Regions from separate parts of the Homo sapiens genome. Here region 2 is linked to region 1. Evidence: promoter capture Hi-C in human tissues and cell types (Jung and others, 2019). All regions are on one chromosome and are shown on one strand. The core of a region is centred on a gene start or on the middle of the fragment in contact, and the rest is flanking DNA. Distances in the headings are between cores, read along the strand shown.

Region 1 (3,228 bases), core at 297-2,796:
TCTGCACTATGATTACTGCTACTGACAGGAACGCAAGTTACTCAATATAGTTGATTGCAAGTAATTTAGATGTTCTCCAACAGCACAAAGAAAGAAAATGACTTCATCTTTTGGACAAGAGACAGTTCTGGAATCCTAGTTTAAATATAGATGGCAGACCTACGGTGCGATCTGAGAATGATTCTTATTTAGAAGGGGCTTCAGAAGATCTCAGAACTCCTGGAAAGACATCTTAGCATTCCATTCTGGAAATTCTTTAGTTTTGTTGGGAGAAAAAATCACTTACAAATAGAGCCAAGATTTTAATTAAAACAAGGTAGTAAATAAATGTCAAAATAAGTGGGATGAGAATAACGTTTCATTTTCAGAAGAGTCCATAGGGAACAATTCAGAGATAAATTTAATCACAAAAGGTCTGAGAATGGGAATATTCGGTTCCACCCTGGTTTTCACATCTGTTCATTTTCACTACTGGTTGCGTTTCCTACGGAGACTCGGGTGGAACATAAAAGTGGGGCTACTTTGGACAAACCATTAAAAACCTTACCCTTTTTTCTCGCTACACACAACTAGACCACATTGCTCTTAGCTAAAGGGACACCTTAAATCTATTCGTTCAGCAAAACTTATAACACCGTGTTCCTTTTCTACTCAGAGGGAATCGCACAAATTAATTCTTGCAGATACTCAGCTCTCCTGTTTTTTAAGCTTCCACGTGGGCCTTAGCCAAATAACTTCTGGTAGGCAAATTCTCCCCTTCTTCAGTTGAGAGCTCAGAGCAAGCTGTTGGATTAAGCAAAAGCACCTTTTAAAAAATTAATATTCAAGGCAGCTGTACCGCGGAGGGCCTGGGTCTCGGAGTCTAAAAAATCAGACTGGACGTTACTATTTTTTTTTAGGCAAACGACAGCTCGTTTCTCATTTGTAAAACCGGGGGAACATCTTACCGAATAAACCTTACACAAACAGAAAGGATTCCTAAGGGCTGGGAAAATACTATTTTGCTGTCCCCAGGATGGAATATCAGCATCCTTGTCTTTTAGCTCTTAATAAAGCTCTAACTAGTCACAGGAGGAGCCAGGCTGCATGATCACGCACACTCTGGACGTCTAGGTTTTCCGACCTAATAAGGGGGCAGGTCGCGTCGTTCCCTGCTTAAATTAGAGACCACCTCCACCTGCCAAGGGCCCTTCAAACCCTCCGCCCCTAGGTCGCTAACGATCACCGCTTTAGTTCTAGCTCCAGGCGCCGCCTGGCGGCTGTCTCCGGAAGTCGCCTGCGAGCCTCGGGGTCCTGACCGCTGCTGGGCCTGCCCGTAGATTTGCCTGACTCTAGCGAACCTGGCTCCGCCCCTCCCCCACTATACGTTGAGGATTTTAAGACGGCGATGAAAGGGCTGAGGTTGTGGCGACGGGGGCGTCCAGCGGCATCTCCACTCCCCCAAGGATGGCGGAATCAGGCCGTTGTCGGGCAGCTCTCGACCCGGAAGTCGCTCGCGGCGCGAGGCCCCCGTTGCCGAGCGCGGGCGCGGGGGGCGGAGCTCGGCGGAGACGGGGAAGGGGTCGCCGTGGCTGCCGGTCCTCGAGTTGGGGGCTGCCGCGGACACTGCTAGGCAGACGGCGAGTACCGAGCGCGGGTGGCCGCGGTGTCCGTGGGCCACGCTCAGCTGCGGTCAGAGGCGACATGAGTGCCGCGGGGCTGCTGGCCCCGGCCCCGGCCCAGGCTGGAGCGCCGCCGGCCCCCGAGTACTACCCCGAGGAGGATGAAGAGCTGGAGAGCGCCGAGGACGACGAGCGCAGCTGTCGGGGCCGCGAGTCGGACGAAGGTGAGTCCTGCCGCTCGCCCGGCCGCCCGGAGCGGAGGTGGGACCGCTGGGGGAGGGGGTGGGGCTGTTCGGGAGAGGGGCGGGGCGGCCTCCGGGGCCTGGGGCTGCGTGGAGGGGCCGCCGGGAGTTGCGGGGCTCGGGGAAGTTACCCCCATCCGTGCTGGAGTAGCGGGGAAGCCCTGGGTGCGTTACACTCGACCGTGATGGGGAGAGGGGACTTAGATGTTGTCACGCTGGGGGTCCCTTTAAGACCCCGTCCTCCCTCCCAGCCGTTTCTGATTGAACCTCACTCACTAGTAGGAATTAGAAACTCATTTACTGAATACATCGAGTGTAGTTCGCCCCTTTTTTGTGTGTGAGAGCATCAGAGTCCAAAGTTGCCCCTCCCCACCCCCGAAATGCATAAGTCATCTATACTTTAGGTAGTACACTATTGAGAACTCAGGTTGGTTAAAGGAAAGGGACCTAGAACCAGCCAGATACAGGTTTAAATTTGGCTTTGTCACTTAACTCAGCTTTGTAAACTTAAGTTTTCCAGCCTCGATTTACCCAACTGTAATGGAGCTGTTTAATTCCCACACCTGCCCTAGAAGGCACTTCCTAGGGTCGGTATAGGGATTAAATGACATGCGCATAAAGTACTTGGCCTGGTACTGTAAATACTCCGTAAATGTTCTCCCCACCCGCCCCCCTCCCGGAAACAGGTAAGAGAGGGAGAGATTTGCTTAATGGTCCCCAGGTGTTGTGTTTTCAGTCCCACGCTCTTTGCACTGTCATCACAGAGTCTCAGAGCCTTGCTTTTCAAACTGGGCTTTATAATTTGGCAAGTGTGAGGAACGCTATTTTGGAGGGATGGAGGAGGAGGAAGGTGATGAAATGTGAGAGATCAAGGGAGGAGAAATAGGAAACAAAGAGAGACCGATATATGAGCGGAATATTCTGGGACAAAATCGGGCCGTGGAGCAAAAGCTAGACCAGCTGTTTGGAATGGGGCCTACGTTTTATTCATCTGAGTTTCCCGAGTGCCAAGTAATGTGGCTGACCATGACAGGAACTCAGGGAAGGCCTCTTGACTGAAGGAGGGGAGAAGGGTTTGTGGGGAATTGGATCTGCAACAGCCTTACAAAAGACAGCTGCATATGCATGACATACAAAGTTGAGGGACTGCATTCGATTTAATTCCATCAGAAGACACGGCTTAACCAGAGATTTTGAATGTGAAGCACTTGCACTTCATCTCATACCCACGAGGGGGCGCTGTGGAGCCAAAATTGAGTTTTTTTTTCCTTCCAGTATAGGGGCTATTAAAATTTTGTACACACCCCAGCCATTAGCTTGTTCTAAGAACAATGTTTAAGATGTTCTGAAACAGTTTTCGTTTGATCATCTGGCCTCCTCCTTGT
Region 2 (3,228 bases), core at 321-2,820, 1.1 Mb after region 1:
GGATGCTTGTGTTTGGGGTAACTGAAGAAGCACACACCTCATTCAAAGCAGTCTGTGGCCCATCATTCTTGTGTAGAAACACAGGTCCCGAGTGGCCAGAGCTTTCAATTTTTTGAAGGCCAAAGTTTTTTCATTTTTATGTGACATCTCCCAATTTTAAAATACAGACAATTGATTCAATTGCACACACGCACACACACACACACTCACAGAGAGAGAGAGGAGAGAGAGAGAGAAAGAGAGAGAAAAAGAGAGTGGATTAATTAAAATATATCTGTGGGCTGAATTTGGCCATGGACAGAAAAATATATACCCCACAGCCAGGTGCAATGTCTCACGCCTGTAATCCCAGCACTTTGGGAGGCCAAGGCAGGTGGATCACTTGAGGACAGGAGTTCAAGACCAGCCTGGCCAACATAGCAAAACCCCATCTCTACTTAAAATACAAAAAAGTAGCCAGGCATGGTGGCACATGCCTGTAATCCCAGCTACTCGGGAGGCTGAGGCACGAGAATTGCTTGAACCTAGGAGGCAGAGGTTGCAGTGAGCCAAGATCACGCCACTGCACTCCAGCCTGGGTGACAGTGAGATTCTGTCTCAAACAAACAAACTATATATATCATATGACTCAAGCATGACAACAACCACCCCCCCCCAAAAAAAATCCTATTTTCTATAACGGAAATGATTTGCTCTGCTGTAATGGTGAAAGAAAAAACACCTAAATATGGTATTAAATTGCTGTTTCCAGAACACAGCTGAAAATATACCTTGTCTGGCCCTTGAAGCAAACATTTCCAACCCTAGTATAATATACTAGTATGCCGCATGATTTATCTTGTTTATTCTCTTGGCTCTTCTAGAGATTATATACTCCATAAGGCAGGGACTTTTTTTTTTTTTTTTTTTTTTGAGACGGAGTCTCACTCTGTCACCCAGGCTGGAGTGCAATGGCACGATCTCAGCTCACTGCAACCTCTGCCTCCCGGGTTCAAGAGATTCTCCTGCCTCAGCCTCCCGAGTAGCTGGGACTACAGGCACTTGCCACCACGCCCAGCTGTTTTTGTATTTTTAGTAGAGACAGGGTTTCACCGTGTTAGCCAGGATGGTCTTGATCTCCTGACCTTGTGATCCACCCGCCTCGGCCTCCCAAAGTGCTGGGATTACAGGCATGAGCCACGGCACCCGACCGAGGGCAGGGACTTTTATATGCTTTGTTAAGGAACTGCATCTGAAACCCTCATCCCTCCAGCAGAAATTATTTGCCTGATACATAGTAAGTGTCCAGTCATATCTGCCGAATAGACCGTGGCAAGAGAAGAAGGTGTTCAAAGCTACTGCTCATTGTTCACATTGTTTCTCTGTCTGCTTGTCCTTCAGCACATATGATGATGAGAAGTTGAAGACACTGGGAGCTAGAGTCACACGTCGCCCATTCACTCCCATCCACAGCTGCATCATTTCTCCCTCGCTAACCGAGGCTCACGTGTAAGTAGTCTCACCTCCAGCTCATTTGCTTTGCTAGCTTATAAATTGAAGCCGAACTGAAATGACTCAACGAGCTGTCATGTCAGTAGCTGTTCCTTTGTCCTCTTGAAAGGGACATGGAGCCTGGAGCTGGCAAAGCTATTTGGCATATAAAAATAACAGAAAGTAGACACAGTGGTTTACAGCTAAGTGGCAAATCAGCTGGGACTGAGTCATTTCATTTCTTGCCAAGCCAGACGCTCTAATGTCAAATAGTTTGCAAAGCCTGATAAAATCTGTCTACAGCCCTCATCGAGTGTGTGCGAGAACATCTCAGCCTGTGCTCAGGGGCATGTTTTCCCCAAGACTCAAGGAGCTGTTTCCCAGAGAAGCCCATCCAGTTTTCTGACCTGAGGCATGAACTCATCATTGTGTGGTGCAACAGGAACTAATCAACCTTCCAAAGAACACTCTTGCTTTCTAAAGTCTTGATGTCTTGTTCCCCTTGTGTCTATTCCAAATCTCAAGCCCAACTTTTTCTTTTTCACCAGTTAGCACTTTTCAGCTGGAAGATTTCAGGCACAGGGATACAAGCTTCTGACTTTAGGGCAGGGTTTTTCAGCCTTGACACCGCTGACATTTTGAGAGAAATAATTAATTCTTTGTTGTGAAAGGCTGTCCTGTGTATTGTAGGATGTTTAGCCGCATCCATGGCCTCTACCCACTAGATACCAGTGTTGACAACCAAAAATGTCTCCAGACATTACCAAATGTCCCCTGGGAGCAAAAGTGCATGAGCCCCCACCGTACATCATACACACACACACACACACACACACACACACACACACACACACACACACACTCCACATTGAGAACCACTGCTTTAGGGCAATGGATTCATTTAGAGCTGTGATACAATGATTCCAGACTTCTCTGTCTGCTCATTTGTCAAATATTTATTAGGCTTCTACAGTGTTCACAGTGATAATGGCCACTCCTCATCACTCTGTAGCATTATCTCACTCAGTCCTCTCAGCCTCCCTGTTGTGTAGGTGTATCATTATCCCCTCTCTGCAGATGGGAAAGCAGAAGCTCAGAGACATAAACTCACCTATTCAGGGTCACAGAGGTCAGTGTGTTGCTGAGTCAGGTCGGTCTGACTGCAAAGCCCAAGCTTTCATCACCACACACTACATAGAACATATATCCCAAAGCCTTGTCTTTAAGGAGCTCATAATATATTTGGCAAGCCAAGTTTCCTATACTTGAAGAGTAAAAGAATACAAGAGTGAAATCATAGGATAAGATGGCAAACAAAAGAAAATCACTAATAAGAGTACTTAGTTCATGAATGGAAGATGCAAAAACCATCACCAACACCATCATCATCATCACCATCATCCTCATCACCATCATCACCATCACCATCATCATCATCATCACCATCACCATCATTATCACCATCATCATCACCAGCATCATCATCATCACCATCATCCTCACCACCATTATCATCACCATCATCCTCACCACCACCATCATCACCACCATCATCATCACCATCATCCTCACCATCATCATCATCACCATCATCATCACCATCATCATCACCACCATCGTCACCATCATCCTCACCACCATCATCACCACCATCATCCTCACCACCATCATCACTGTCATCATCACCATCACCATCATCATCACCACCATCATCACCACCATCCTCACCATCACCATCATCATCACCATCATCATCAC

Evidence for each region. Contacts are between HindIII fragments. The study calls those that stand out against the background at their distance.
Region 2: a fragment that was not itself captured here is called in contact with the fragment with the promoter of SUDS3 in region 1 in 1 of the 25 tissues and cell types used here (dorsolateral prefrontal cortex).

The regions. Positions count from the first base shown.
Region 1 is chr12:118,375,009-118,378,236 of GRCh38, forward strand. SUDS3 (SIN3A corepressor complex component SDS3) reads left to right here and starts at 1,547. Exons shown (of 12, transcript NM_022491.3): 1 at 1,547-1,825. The coding sequence starts at 1,684. LOC124903031 (a long non-coding RNA gene) reads right to left here and starts at 1,119. Exons shown (of 2, transcript XR_007063480.1): 1 at 948-1,119; 2 at 290-783. RefSeq lists silencers at 1,544-1,763, 1,794-1,943 and an enhancer at 1,602-2,102. The HindIII fragment of the contact is 10,741 bases long and covers 1-3,228 here.
Region 2 is chr12:119,477,714-119,480,941 of GRCh38, forward strand. It overlaps CCDC60 (coiled-coil domain containing 60), which reads left to right. Exons shown (of 14, transcript NM_178499.5): 4 at 1,381-1,488. The region is part of intron 2 of PRKAB1-AS1 (PRKAB1, TMEM233 and CCDC60 antisense RNA 1); the gene reads right to left. Among named protein-coding and RNA genes, the nearest start is that of TMEM233, 110 kb to the right of the region's middle. The HindIII fragment of the contact is 3,028 bases long and covers 57-3,084 here.